5 separate regions of the Homo sapiens genome follow, and regions 2, 3, 4 and 5 are each linked to region 1. The links are contacts of gene promoters, found by promoter capture Hi-C in human tissues and cell types (Jung and others, 2019). All regions are on one chromosome and are shown on one strand. Each heading gives the region's core, a stretch centred on a gene start or on the middle of the fragment in contact. The rest is flanking DNA. Distances are from core to core; before and after follow the strand shown.

Region 1 (2,913 bases), core at 143-2,642:
GTTCATAAATGTGTTTAGTGCTTACCATGAAAGACAATTTTTACCCCCATCTCCAAAAAGAAGTAGAACTGATTCAGCTCACAGAAGGCTGTTAAAGGCGCCAGAGAAATATGTGATGCAGTGGCTTAAAGAGACTGCCAGGAAGAGTGGGGAAAGTTGCTGCACTCAAGTCAATTTGGGAAATTTCATGCAGAACAGCCACCCAATAGCAAGGCCTCTAGGTAAGTAGGGAGAACGCCTCTGGTCATGTTCAGGTGTTTCGTCTGTCAAGGTGCTTCTCCCGGACAGCTATTTCTGCACAGTTCAACACGACTTGAGTTGGCCATCTCAAAACAGCTATAGCCTCAGTTGCTGTGAGGGCACCTCATGGATGACAGAGGCAAGAAAGGCTTGAGGGAGAGGGGGTGAGGCAGGGGGAGCTTGGAGCCGTCATTCTCTAACCCTAAGAGCTGTGGACACAAAGCCGAGCCCAACCTGGCTGCTGCCCGGGCGGGCAAGGAGAGGGCACCGAATGCACTCTCCCCAGAGCCTCGCACTGCCACCAGTTGAGGCCTGCGCCCCTCTCTTCCCCGCACACCATAGCCTCTTTTCTTGAGTGCTCTACCCAAACTACTGCCTCACCCCCTAGGAAACAAACATTTGGTAACATCTTCAGAAAGGCTGCTTTCAAGGAAGGCAGCTTCTCTACGCTGTCAAACAGCTTTCTTAGTTGAAGCATCTAACTGTGGCACCATCCTTACTGCCCCCAATTGGGGCTTCCAGAAGCAGTGTGGGCAAGCGCTGCCAGCCTTCTGCAGAATGATGAGCACTGGTCAGTCCTGTGCTGATAAAGACTGTGTGTCACCCACGTCTTGGTTTCTCCAACAGCAGGTAACAACCTCATCTTCCCAAAGAGATAGATAGCTACGCCTGACCTATTTTTCAGGGCTCTTCTGGACAGCAGCCTCTGTCTCCAGCACAGAGAAGGGCCTGGCGTCAGGGGGAGCCCTGGAGCCTACCATGTGCCTCCTGCTCCATCTTGGGAGCAGCTGGGCCCTGTCAGTACTCAGTAGAGCCTGGGATTGGTGACTGACTAAAGAGGGAGGTGGAGGCTTTAGGCAGCAGCGCTGAAAGAGGTGGCAAGAGGTGACCTGCATGGGAACTGGGGCCTGAAGAGACATCACTAAGTGGGGAAGTGTGTCCCACAGCCAAGCTGCATGGTGGGTGGGCCGCTGGGTCTGCTTCCAGTGTGTGGTGGGACCCACAGGGAGCTGAGTTTTCCTGTTTGATTTCCCGCACCCAGCCTGCCTGTGGCTGGCCAAGAAGGCATTGTTGAACCTCATGAGATCACAGAGGTAGCTGTGCAGGCCCCGCCCACTTCCTATAACCCTGGTTCTGGCCGTCCCTGTGCCAAGCCTCCAAGTTCCCTGAGAGCTACCGGCCAGGGGTCGGGAGGCTATGGGAGCTCAGGGCAGGCACCTCCCATGCTCCCGCGGGAGCCACCAGGACATGAAGGTCATAGGCCTCTCCTCTCCTCCTCTTCCTGTTTGACCTGAATGCCCCCAGGCCAACTGCCTCAAGGATTCCATTTGAGAAGATGCAGGCTGGGTGTGTGGGGAGCAGTAGAGGGGCTGGTGTGTGCACATATGTGCACAGCTCAGGACAGAGGCTCCCTGGACTTGGGGCGGGGGCACTAGGGCCCCAACTCTAACCCTCGTTCTGCCCTGTTGACCTCTGCTCTCTGGACCAAAAATGGAGGACTCAGTCTAGACTAGTTCTTAGGGTCTAGGAGCCACCTTAAGTTATGTTTATATGCAAAGGCCATTTTTCTGAGAGGCCATAGCTTTCATCAGTGTGCCAAAAAGCGTGAGATCCTCTGCTCTAAAAGCCTCTGCCCCAGCGCTGCCTAGTTTCAGAGCCCCCGATGGCCTCACATGGGGTTTTAGAGCAGGCAGAGAAGCTGCAATGGGGCCACCAGCCAGTCCTCAGAGTCCTGGGTTAAGGCCTCCTCTCCAGGAGGCCCTGTGTAAAGGTTTTCTCTGTTGCCTGGAGGCAGGAGTGAACTGGTAGGCAGGAAACCCTGAGGGTACCTAGGAGGCCCCTAGCCTGTGGGTTGGGGAGGGAAGACAGGACCCCTGGGGCCACTGAAATGGTGGAGCTCTCAGAGACCTGAGTTCTGGTCCCTTCTGCCACTTTTTGGGCAGATCCCGTCTTCCCACAGGCCCTGTGTCTTGCTCAGTCCACGTGACTCTGCTTTCTCATCCTAGGCCTCAGGTGGGTGGCAGGCCCTTTCCTGCTTGCCCTCTGCCCTCCCTCTCTCTGGCCCTGCCCAGTCTCTGCCAATCTGTGTACCTCCCAGGAGCCGGGACACTCCCTGAGTCCTCTGGGAGCCCTTAAGCCACACTGAGAACACAGACCCTGGGAGAAGCAGCCAGCAGTGAGGAATCCTGGAACCCCTTCCCAGGGAGAGCCTTCCCATGACCCCCATGAAGAGATCAGTGCAAACACAGGTGTCAGAGCCCTTCATGGAGTCCTGGGGTGAGGAGTCCCTGCCGGAGCTACCCGCAGAGCAGTCCCTGACGGAGTACTCTGACCTCGAGGAGGCTCCCTCGGCGCACACTCTCTATGTGGGCCATCTGAACCCCCAGTTCTCAGTGCCGGTGCTTGCCTGCCTGCTGCGAGACACCCTGGAGCGGCTGGAGATGCCGGTGGCGCGGGAGCACATTGAAGTGGTGAGGCGGCCGCGGAAGGCCTATGCACTGGTGCAGGTGACTGTCCACAGGGACACCCTGGCCTCCCTCCCCTGGCGCCTGCAGACGGCCCTGGAGGAGCACCTAATCCTCAAGGAGCTGGCAGCCCGTGGGAAGGACCTGCTATTGAGTGAGGCCCAAGGGCCCTTCAGCCACAGAGAGGTAAGTGGGACTTTTCCCAAGC
Region 2 (2,913 bases), core at 226-2,725, 240 kb after region 1:
TGAATCGAGGCGAGGAGGTCTGGGTTCCACTCACTTGCCTCCTAAAATCTCTCTGCCTGCTAGCCACCTGACCCTGGGCTTTCTTACAGCTCCAAGGGTTGCTAGAGCTCAGAGGAGGGAGAAGTCTCCACAGGCAATGGCAGAGGGAGCTTTCTTGGGGACAGGAGTGGGGAGGACTGGGAGAGACGCAGAGAAGTACAACCAATAATGCCTGCAGCTACCATTAATGAGGCCTGCAGTCAATCCTAAGCCTTATGCAGGATGTTTTACCTGCATTGTCTATTTCAGCATCCCCACAACCTTGTGCGGTAATACTGTTCACGGTCCCATGTTACACTCAAGAAGACTGAGGCTCAGTGAAGAGACTTGCCTTGTATGGCTGTTAATTCACTCAGGTGCTGCTTTAATGTGTGTGTGTGTGTGTGTGTGTGTGTGTGTGTGTGTGTGTGTACTGGTGTGGGAAGAATGTTACAGAGCATTCGGAAGAGCAAGCTTAGCCAGGGGCACGCAGGAGGACTTGAATGCCAGGATGGAGGGTCCAATTTGGCCTGATAAGAAACAGGGAGCCTGGCCAGGCCCTGAGGCTGGGCATGCTGCAGAGGCTGTGGCTCCCTAGGAGAGAACCCAGGATGGGTGAAGTGGGAGGCACCAGCATCCAGAGAGGCTGGCAGTGCCAGGGGCAGAAAGAGCCCTAAACTACAAGTCATGGCTGGGCTTCCAGTCCTAGCTCCACCTGTGGAATACCTGGGGACCTTGGGCAAGTCACTCCACCTCTTCCCCACTTTCCCTGGCTATCAGCACTGAATGCAATAATGCATGAAAAAGTTAGAGACCATGCAGGGGGCTGTACGCACGTGACCCATTCGTCTGACTGCTCTTCAGGTACGTGTTTCAGGTGGAGCAGGGAGATGCTCTGGGAATTCCCTGGTCCTAGCAGTTCTTCTCAATCTAGGAAGCCTTCCTAGGAGGGGATTGGAGTGGAGAGTGCTCAGGGGGTGATGGCATCACATTATTGACCTTTGGGAACCCACCTCTACTGAGAGCAGGAGGAAGCATGAGAGAAAGATAAGGCCTTCTTCCTTTTCCCTGTGCAGCCCAGAAAGGACAAGAGACTTAGGCCACGAGGTGCTGGAGGGGCCCAAGGAATTTCTTTTTCTTTTCCTTTTTTTTTTTTTTTTGAGATGGAGTCTCGCTCTGTTGCCCAGTCTGGAGTGCAGTGGCGCAATCTCGGCTCACTGCAAGCTCTGCCTCCCGGGTTCACACCATTCTCCTGCCTCAGCCTCCCAAGTAGCTGGCACTACAGGCGCCCGCCACCATGCCTGGCTAATTTTTTTGTATTTTTAGTAGAGACGGGGTTTCACCGTGTTAGCCAGGATGGTCTCGATCTCCTGACCTCCTGATCCGCCCGTCTTGGCCTCCCAAAGTGCTGGGATTACAGGCGTGAGCCACCTCGCCAGCCAAGGAATTTCTTTTCCCCAGATCTGGGTGTGGCACTGACCAGCCCCCAGCCTAGACCAAGCAGGCCAGTCAGCTCAGAGCCACAGGAAGTGGGGAGGGAGCAGTGTTGCTGAGCTCAGTGAAAGTGAACCCCCATTGATCCTCAGGGCTGGAGGGGGCCCACACAGAGGAGACACAGAGGGAGAAAGGGGCGTGGAAATGAAGGTCAAAGCCCTCCCTTCTTGCAGGGCTCCTCCTCTGCCTTCAGGATTCTTCCTGTAAGATCCTTCCTCTAACCTCTACCTCTGGAAGACCATGCAGAAGGCAACAGTGCTGTGGTCCTGCTGGTTAACTCCATGTTCTCGGTGAGAACCACTGGGACAATAGAGTTGGCTGAAAAATGAAAAGGAAGGACTTTTCTGAGTTGCTGAGTGTGCAGTGGAAAAGAACTTCCATGCTCGCCTGGTGGGAGAAACTTGAATGAGGGCTCAGGGAGGGAGATGACGTGAGTAGGAGGGACAGAAGGTTGAGTAGCAGGAAATGGGGTTCAGAAAGAGGATGACAACCTGGTAAGGGAGATGGGATTCAGGGAGGAGAATGGGGGCTCCAAAGAGAGGCTAGAGACTGGGTGACAGGGATGGAAGGCTCAGAGACCAGGATTTCCAGGTCAAGCTTGATTAAACGCTTATTAAATTCCTCCTCTTTGAAATATTAGATGTGCAAAGCAAGATAAGTGCTAAATAATTTTTTAAATTAAAAAAAAATTTTTTTTTTGAGACCAGTTCTTGCTCTGTCACCCAGGCTGGAATGCAGTGGTGTGATCTTGGCTTACCGCAACCTCTGCCTCCTGGGTTCAAGCAATTCTCTGCCTCAGCCTCTCGAGTAGCTGAGAATACAGGTGTGTACCACCATGCCTGGCTAATATTTTTATTTTTTGTAGAGATGGGGTTTCACCATGTTGGCCAGGCTGGTCTCGAACTCCTGGCCTCAAAGTGATCTACCAGCCTTGGCTTCCCAAAGTGCTGGGATTACAGGCATGAGCCACCATGCCCAGCTGATAATTAAAAGAAAAAAAAAGTACATATTCAAGCACCAAAAGCAAGAATGGGGAATTGTGTAAGACCATAAGAGGTAATTCCTGGTGGCAAGCAGGAATTGAAGGTGTATTTCTGAGGGGGGGTCCAGTGTCCAGTGGGGTGGGAGGGTGGGAAGTATAGTTGCCAACCTCAAAAATGCCAGGGACAACAGTAGGCTTTCTGCTTAAAGCTGAGTCTGGTAAAGTGCTGCCTGCCGTGAACATTAAAATCTCTGTCTGCTAGCCACCTGGTCCCTGGCTTTAAGCAGAAAGAGGATCCTTATAAGTGTGACACCTCAGTCTGTCCACAGGGGGTGTGGGCTCAGGATTTGATATCCAGGCCATGCAAAAATCCCAAACCAAGACACTGCTATAAGAGCTGATTTGAGGCTGCTGCACTT
Region 3 (2,913 bases), core at 144-2,643, 200 kb before region 1:
GAGATACAATAATCACTAATCCCTTACATTTCATTTCAACTATTCAGTATTTAGCACTCACCATGTGTTAGATACAGGGGATAAAGAAATAAACATGAAGCAGCATTACCCTTTAAGGCTCATAATCTAGTAGAGGAATCAGACACAAATAAATTATAATACAGTATAGCACAATAATATAAATGTATACACTTCATGGAAGAGATAATGATTTTGTCTGAGAGTATGAGGAAAGCTTCTATTCTATGCAAATTAGGTTTTAAAGGATGAGTAGACGTTTTTTAGGTAGACTGAGGAGGTGAAAGAGGGGGCGATCCAGATGGAAGGAGTCAGCATATGTAGTGTTTGGAACTGTATAAATCGTTTATTACTGCTGTGTATTAAGGTTAAGAAGAGCTGACTAAAGGTGAGGCTAGAGGGTAGGCAAGGGCTGGATCATCCGAGGATGATTTTTGTACCATCCTGGGGAGTTTAAATGTCATTCTGTGGGCAAGAGGAGTCAGTGAAGGGTTTTGAGCAGAAAACAAAGACTATCCCTTGAGTGTTGTAGGAAAACCACTTTGATAGCCTTGCAAATGACAGAGCAGGGAGCTTTATAGATTACCCAAATGTTTGCAGGTTATTATCTGATTCTCACAACAGGTCTTTGAAAGTTGGCAAGGCAGGAATTAATCCCATCTAATATATGATATATGAACCACTGAGAATTAAAGATGGCGCTGGAAATTAGCTTGCATCATATACAATCAGTACTTACTGAGCAACGATTAAACCTAGGCCTTTTCCAAATCTAGTTGTATTTTTACGATACATTGAAAGATACAGTCCCTGCCCTAAATGAAATTTAAAACTTGTTAGGGATGATTGAGGGATAATTTTCCTTAAAAAAAAAAAGATAAAATTACGACTCTCACACAAATATAGAATGAACAAAATTTTAACTCATTAATCCATGTGGGAAACAGAAAGATAGTACAAAGATGGCTCAGAGAGGACCCAAAGTACCACATATTTATTGTCAGGGAATGCTGAACTTAATTCACAAATGGTGACAAAACTCGTCAATACCCATAGGACAGTTATCAATTGCATTACCTGGGCACAGTTTGCATTTCAGTGGACAGGAATTATTTGCATTACTGTGAGTTTTCAACAAGCTGACATCTTTCTTGACAAAGCTGTGAAATAGCCTAATTAAAGAGAGACCAAGTAACACATCTCTATACAATCAGGTAATCCTGGAAGGCTCCAGATTCCATTGATAGAATATGCAGTAATCTCTCTTGCCCATTTCAAAACCTCCCACAATTTTATCCGACAGGGATTTAGGACTAATTCTCAGAAAATTCAGATTAGGGGATAAAGAAATAAACATGAAGCAACCTCACCCCACAAGGCTCATAATCTAGTAGAGGAATCAGACAAATAAATTATAATACAAAATAGTACAATAATATAAATGTATACACTTCATGAAAGAGATGATTTCATGTGGGCTAGGATCTTCTCCAGTTTTCCCTATTACCCTATCATCAGAAATCAGGGATTCTTCATCTCAACAGAAGTATCCTTTGAAAAATGACTGCATCATACAGTCCCATTATGCAATGTCAGTTTCCATTCTCACTTTCTGTTTAGATTACCTGCCTAGGACTCTTCTTGAGTGTTTGAATTACCCCTTTCCAGAAATGAAAATCTGCCTCCAAACCCACCAACCTAGTTGTTGGTGGACCGTAATACCCAAGTGAAAAAAGGCTTTAGGGTGCCAGGTGTCTGGATTTTCTAAGCAGTACTTCTGTAGAGTTCCTTGGCATAATGCCATCTTCCCCTTAGCACTGTGATATGTCTCGGTACAGTCTCTTTTGCTGTATTATAGAAGGTGCATTCCTAGGAAGCCTCATGTTATAAAGAGTTAGTATAGTAATTGTTTCAAGGGTTTTTTTCCTATATGAAGGTAAAGGTGCTTATATAGCTGTAAGTATATAACTATAAAATCTAAAGATTTTGAGGAAATCCAGTGTTTGATTTTGTTTAACTTTTGCAAAAGAGTATTTCTTTGCCTATCTTCACCAACATCACTTTATCACTTTTATTGTCTATTTTTATGGCAAAGCACCAAGTCACTTAAAGCAGTTGTTTCATATTTGCAGTATTTCTTTTTCTCCTTTCCTTTCTTTGTTTAATTCCTTCATGCTTTCTCTTTCTTCTTCTTCCCTTCCCTTGTTTCCTTTTCTTCTTTCCCTTCCTTCCCTTCCCTCACTTTCTGCTTGTCTTATTCCTTCTCTGTATTCCACATAAAGTATGTTAGAATTATGCAAATAATGTTTCCTAAAACCAGATATAGGTATATCTCTTTGACTTAATGCTGCCAGTTTAAGATTATTTATCTGTTCATATCATTTGTAGATGGTTCTGCTCTCTCAAGACTTATCACTGATTGCTTGATTGCTTAATGATGTCAATCTCCAGTCCTTTGTTTCCTAGCTTTTTTTTTTTTTTTTTTTTTTTTTTTTTGAGACGGAGTCTTGCTCTGTCACCCAGGCTGGAGAGTTCAGTGGTGCAGTGTTGGCTCACAGCAACCTCTGCCTCCCGGGTTTAAGCAATTCTTCTGCCTCAGCCTCCTGAATAGCTGGGACTACAGGTGCCTGCCACCACACCTGGCTAATTTTTTTTTGTATTTTTAGTAGAGATAGGGTTTCGCCATGTTGGCCAGGCTGGTCTTGAACTCCTGGCCTCAAGTGGTCCGCCCAGCTTGGCTTCCCAAAGTGCTGGGATTATAGGCATGAGCCACCGCGCCTGGGCCCTAGCCTTTTTTTTTTTTGCTATGAGCGTTTGGCCATGCCCTATTGAATTTTGTGTCTGTGTGTTATATATATATAACAAAATTTATTATTTCATCCTCTTTTTTTTTTG
Region 4 (2,913 bases), core at 211-2,710, 180 kb before region 1:
ATTTGATCTTCAATCACTGATATCCTTTCTTCCACTTGGTCAAATCGGCTACTGAAGCTTGTGCATGTGTCATGAAGTTCTCGTGCCATGGTTTTCAGCTCCATCAGGTCGTTTAAGGTCTTCTCTACACTGTTTATTCTAGTTAGCCATTCATCTAATCTTTTTTCAAGGTTTTTAGCTTCCTTGTGATGGGTTTGAGCATCCTCCTTTAGCTCAGAAAAGTTTGTTATTAACTGACCTTCTGAAGCCTTCTTCTGTCAACTTGTCAAAGTCATTCTCCATCCAGCTTTATTCTGTTGCTGGTGAGGAGCTGCGATCCTTTGGAGGAGAAGAGGCGCTCTGGTTTTTAGAATTTTCAGCTTTTCTGCTCTGGTTTCTCACCATCTTTGTGGTTTTATCTAACTTTGGTCTTTGATGTTGGTGACCTACAGATGGGATTTTGGTATGGATGTCCTTTTTGTTGATGTTGATGCTATTCCTTTCTGTTTGTTAGTTTTCCTTCTAACAGGTCCCTCAGCTGCAGGTCTGTTGGAGTTTGCTGGAGGTCCACTCCAGACCTTGTTTGCTTGGGTATCACCAGCGGAGGCTGCAGAACAGCTAATATTGCAGAACAGCAAATATTGCTGCCTGATCCTTTCTCTGGAAGCTTCGTCCTAGAGGGGCCCCTGCCTGTATGAGGTGTCAGTCGGCCCCTACTGGGAGGTACCTCCCAGTGTTGGGAGAACCACTCCTCTCTTCAAGCTATCAGACAGGGATGTTTAAATCTGCAGAAGTTGTCTGCTGCCTTTTGTTCAGCTATGCCCTGCCCACAGAGGTGAAGTCTATGGAGGCAGTAGGCCTTGTTGAGCTGTAGTGGGCTCTGCCCAGTTCGAGCTTCCTGGCCACTTTGTTTACCTACTCAAGCCTCAGCAATGGCAGATGCCCCTCCCCCCCGCGAGGATGCAGTGGGAAATCAGGGGTCTCACAGCCTTCAGAGCTGAGAGCCCCGAATTGATTGAGGTCAGTCTCAGACTGCTGCGCTAGCAGTGAGCAAGGCTCCATGGGCATGGGACCTGCCGAGCCAGGCACAGGAGAGAATCTCCTGGTCTGCCAGTTGCTAAGACCATGGGAAAAGCACAGTATTTGGGCAGAGGTGTACTGATTTTCCAGGTGCAGTCTGTCACGGCCTCCCTTGGCTAGGAAAGGGAAATCCCCCAACCCTTGTGCTTCACAGGTGAGGTGATGCCCCGTCATGCTTCGGCTTGCCCTCCGTGGGCTGTATCCACTGTCCAACCAGTCCCAATGAGATGAACCAGATACCTCAGTTGGAAATGCAGAAATCACCCGTATTCTGCATCGATCATGCTGGGAGCTGCAGACTGGAGCTGTTCCTATTCAGCCATCCTGCAGTTCAGTCATTTTTGTTTCATTTTAAGAGATTTTCCTTAACTGTTTTTCTCTCAGAAATCAATTTGTGGGTTGTAATTATAAGCCATCCAAGTATAATGTATTTTCAATTCAGTAAGTAGCCACTATTCTGGTCATATAATTTTTTAGTTTTGTGCCTTTTTTCCTTACTATTAAATTAGCATATACCCATTTCATTAATAAATACCTATTGAGTATCTCCTCTTACACCAGGCACTATTCCAGGTGCTGGGATATAATGCTGAATGAATAACATAAACACCCCAGTGAGAGAGACAAATAAATAGATATGGAAAATATTAAATGGTGCTAACTGCTATGTGGAGAATTAAGAGTGGTATGATAGAAAGGGTCTAGGTGACTACTTTAGTTTGAGTGATCAGGGAAGGATTCTCTGAGGAGGTGACATTTAAGCTAAGACCTGAATGATGAAAAGCCAGACATGTGAATATTGAGGTGGAACATTCCAGGGAGTGTAAAGGCCCCAAGGTCATAAGGAACTTGGCCTCCAACAGGAGCTGAGAAGACCAGTATAGCTGGAGCAAAGCAAAAGGTGAGAGCCATAGGAGATGAAGTAGAAGAGGTAAGTAGGGGTCAGATCATGCAGGACTATGTGGGCCAGGATAAGGTACTTGGATTTGATTTGAAGTGCTATGGGGAGGCTTTGGGAGATTTTAAGCTGGAGAGTGATATGATCTAACTTACCTTAACATATAGTCAGGACAGGATCATATAGGGAAGAAAATAGGTCAATACTGAGAACCTGTAATTCAAACACAGGAAAAAGATTGCATTTGCTGCTAAGGCGTACTAAATAGCCCAGTTTTCCTTGAAAAATCCTAAGCCTAAGAGACAAGAAATTTGGCCAAATTCCATTGTTTTGATTCCCAGCTCCACCATGTACCAACTGTGTAACCTTGGGCAAATTATAAGATATCTCTCTGCACTGGTTTCTCATCATTAAAATGAAGATAATAATAGTGCCTGCAGATAATAATAGTGCCTGCCTTATAGACTAGTGAAAATTGAACAACATTGCTGAGACCAGCTCGGTCGGGGAGACCCTAACCCAGCGGCGCTAGAGGAATTAAAGACACACAGAAATATAGAGGTGTGAAGTGGGAAATCAGGGGTCTCACAGCCTTCAGAGCTGAGAGCCCCGAACAGAGATTTACCCACGTATTTATTAACAGCAAGCCAGTCATTAGCATTGTTTCTATAGATATTCGATTAACTAAAAGTATCCCTTATGGGAAACGAAGGGATGGGCCAAAATAAAGGAATAGGTTGGGCTAGTTAACTGCAGCAGGAGCATGTCCTTAAGGCACAGATCGCTCATGCTATTGTTTGTGGCTTAAGAATGCCTTTAAGTGGTTTTCTGCCCTGGGTGGGCCAGGTGTTCCTTGCCTTCATTCCAGTAAACCCACAACCTTCCTGCGTGGGCGTTATGGCCATCATGAACAAGTCACAGTGCTGCAGAGATTTTGTTTATGGCCAGTTTTGGGA
Region 5 (2,913 bases), core at 230-2,729, 170 kb after region 1:
CCACAGTTCATAACACATACTAGGTACTTACACAGTGGGAAGGATGGGGTAGAATTTGAACATGAGCACGTGAAAGAAGGAAATTCCAAGGGAGGTGACAATGTGTGCAAATGCCGAGTGACATGAATGAATAAGACTTTACTAGGAAAGGCAACAAGTCCGGGGTGGTTAGTGTGTAGGGTGCATGGTCAGCGGGGGAAGGGTTGTGCTCGGAGTAGGCAAGGGTCAAAGAGGGGTGACCCTTAGTGGCAGGCTGAGGAGCTTGAACTTGATTCTGTTAGTAATGGGGAGTCACAGACGACATGAGCCGAGTGGAAACAGTTGGGTTTGTGTTTTGGAAAGGTCACTCTGGCTGTGGTGAGTAGAATGGATTTGAGAGGGGCAGGTGGGAGAAATGGAGAGCGCTGAGAAAGCATGAAATGCAATGTCTAGCATACATGAATATTCTTTTGAAGAATGAATGACTCTATCTCGATTACTTAGGATTATGCACGTGGCTTTGAGTGACAGAAAAACAGTAGCTTAAATAAAAAGAACCAGGTAGGTAGTCCAGAATGGGTGTAGTTATCCATAGTGTCAGCATCTAGGCCCCACCACCTTGTTGCTTTGTCATTTGTGGGTTAGACCTCATGATCCAAAAAGGCTGCTCGAGCTACCATATCAACATTCCAGCCAGAAAAAAAGAGAAAAGAGGAGTCGTGAACTTTCTGGAAGTTTTCTGCCCCTAACTACAAAAGAGGCTCAGAAATGTAGTCTTTATTCTGGGTGGCCATATGTGTAAGCAGAATTCAGAGGTTCTGCTACTGGGAAGAAGATGGGAATGGATCCTGCAGTCACGATAATGACCCACTGATGTGGAGGCTACAGGAAAGGAGTGGAAAATGATTCCCAGGGGTGTGGCTTGGGGCACAGAGTGACTCTTCCATGAGGTGAATCCTAGCAGGAAGAGCAGGCTGTAGGGAGCAGGATAGATTAGGATGGACACATCAGGCCATCCAAGGTGGACATCTAGGAGGAAGAGGGCCAGATAAATGGGTCTGGAGCTCAGGAATTAGGTCTGGACTGACAGTAACTTTGTTTGGGGGGGTATTAGCACATCCATTGTTGCCTTGGGAATGATGATGCCCAGTGATAAAAGAATGTGGCCAAGGACAGAACCTTGGATAGAGGCCGAGAATTAGCAGCTGGGGAAGTGGGAGAGAAACAGCAGAAAGGTGTCCTGAAAGCCCAGGGAGATGTTTCCCAAAGGAGGGCGTGGTCAGGGGTTCCTAATGCTGCTGAAAAGTCAGGTAAAGTGAGGACTAAAAAGAGGCTGTTCAATTGGGCAATCAGAAAGTCAAAATGACTTTGCCAGAGCAATTCCAGGGGAGTGGAGAGGCAGGAGACAGGATGCCATGGTCAGTGGGAAATGGGAAAAGAGGAAGTCAGGTCAACAAAGGTAGATGAATTGTTTAAAGGATCTTTTTGGACCTCAGTGTTTCCATGGGTCAAGTGACCCATGTCTGGGGCTTCTTTGCTGCGCTTTTTAGTGGACTTAAAAGCATTGAAAAGGCCTCTACAGTTGGGTTCGGCCTGGACGGCGCCTGCTTGAGATGGGATGCAACACCCATCTTTTCTCGGCAGGTGGCAGCACCACACCAAGTGACACCACCTGGACACCTCGACCAACACGAAATCCACATTGCACATCAGTGCATTTTCAGAGAAATGAAGCTTAGATCCCCAAACACCAAAGCGTTGGGTGGTGGTTGTTGCTGTTGTTGTCATTTTGGATGGAAGCCTTGAGTAGAGAAAACTGAATGGAACTTTCTGTTCAAGTCCTGGCTCTGTCACTTACTGGCTGTGCAACCTTCAGCAAGCCCTCTCACACATGCAAGCCTGCTTCCTGGTTGGCAAATCGGGCATGAGAACAAACCCAAAACCACCTCATGGTGTCACAGTGAGTCTGTAACAAAGTGCGCTTGTGTCGGATGTTCCTGTGGACAGACTCAGGGCTGGGGTGGGCAAGCGGGGATGGGCTCAGAAGCAGAGGGAAGGGACCAGACCCGCACAGCCATGGGGAGGGGGTGCCTGTGGTCTTTACAAAGGCTGCACACAACAGTACTGCTGGAGTCAGGAAAGTTGGGTTCGGATTTTGCAGGTGAGGGAACCAAGGCTCCCATATGACTCTCCACAGTCATACCCCTCAAACAGGCAAAGCAGAGGCACCAAAACCAAACTTCAGAAGAAGAATTTGATGCATAATATTTTTGAAAAAAAAAAAAAGGCTCAGAATTGCAGCATGGGAAAAATCTGAACTTCGTGGAACTTCTTTCCCATTGTTGTGTGGTTTCGTATTGTTTGCTGCCCTTCACTCCCCTGGTCCCTGTTTAATGCCCACGTTCTGAGAGCACCCCTGTATCTGCTCCTTCCCCCTAAGATGACATGGGGGAGGTTAAGGATGTGAGGGGAGGAGAGGAGGAAGCCATCCAGCCATCTGGAGGTCGAGAGACTCGGGCTCAGCTCTGGGCTCTGCCTTGGCTTACTAGGCCTCAGTTTTCCCAGCTGCAAAATGAGGCTATGGGACCAGTGGTCCCTTGGGAGCCTTGGCAGCTCTGACTTTTTATGAAGGCTTTGGATTCCCCTTGAGCTTCCCTGACCATCTCTCTGAAAGACGCCCCCTGCAACACAGTCACTATTCCATTTCCATTTTATTTTCTTCACGGCACTTATCACCCCATGAAATTATCGTGTTTTTTTTGTTTGTTTTCTGTCTAGACAGTAATCTACTATCTACTCTATGTGAGCAGGGACTTTGTGAGTGAGCTGCTAGGACCTTGGCACCTAAAATAGTGCTTGGCATGTACTAGAAATGAACAAACAATTGTAGAATAAGTGAATGAAGGGCAGAGAACACAGCCCCTTACTCTCTGA

What was found. The method cuts DNA at HindIII sites, captures the fragments that hold promoters and counts their contacts. A contact is called where the count stands out against the background at its distance.
Region 2: a contact is called between a fragment that was not itself captured here and the fragment with the promoter of SLFNL1 in region 1, in 2 of the 25 tissues and cell types used here (IMR-90 fibroblasts and thymus).
Region 3: a fragment that was not itself captured here is called in contact with the fragment with the promoter of SLFNL1 in region 1 in 1 of the 25 tissues and cell types used here (thymus).
Region 4: a fragment that was not itself captured here is called in contact with the fragment with the promoter of SLFNL1 in region 1 in 1 of the 25 tissues and cell types used here (aorta).
Region 5: a fragment that was not itself captured here is called in contact with the fragment with the promoter of SLFNL1 in region 1 in 3 of the 25 tissues and cell types used here (H1 embryonic stem cells, liver and thymus).

The regions. Positions count from the first base shown.
Region 1 is chr1:41,020,204-41,023,116 of GRCh38, reverse strand. It overlaps SLFNL1 (schlafen like 1), which reads left to right and starts at 1,392. Exons shown (of 6, transcript NM_144990.4): 1 at 1,392-1,494; 2 at 2,247-2,253; 3 at 2,339-2,891. The coding sequence starts at 2,457. All of the region lies in intron 1 of SLFNL1-AS1 (SLFNL1 antisense RNA 1), which reads right to left. The HindIII fragment of the contact is 20,466 bases long and covers 1-2,913 here.
Region 2 is chr1:40,777,656-40,780,568 of GRCh38, reverse strand. No RefSeq gene overlaps it. Among named protein-coding and RNA genes, the nearest start is that of KCNQ4, 4.7 kb to the left of the region's middle. The HindIII fragment of the contact is 3,683 bases long and covers 1-2,913 here.
Region 3 is chr1:41,221,495-41,224,407 of GRCh38, reverse strand. All of the region lies in intron 1 of SCMH1 (Scm polycomb group protein homolog 1), which reads left to right. Among named protein-coding and RNA genes, the nearest start is that of SCMH1, 19 kb to the left of the region's middle. The HindIII fragment of the contact is 7,059 bases long and covers 1-2,913 here.
Region 4 is chr1:41,203,550-41,206,462 of GRCh38, reverse strand. The region is part of intron 1 of SCMH1 (Scm polycomb group protein homolog 1); the gene reads left to right. Among named protein-coding and RNA genes, the nearest start is that of SCMH1, 37 kb to the left of the region's middle. The HindIII fragment of the contact is 3,341 bases long and covers 1-2,913 here.
Region 5 is chr1:40,848,897-40,851,809 of GRCh38, reverse strand. The region is part of intron 1 of LOC105378676 (a long non-coding RNA gene); the gene reads left to right. Among named protein-coding and RNA genes, the nearest start is that of CITED4, 12 kb to the left of the region's middle. The HindIII fragment of the contact is 9,569 bases long and covers 1-2,913 here.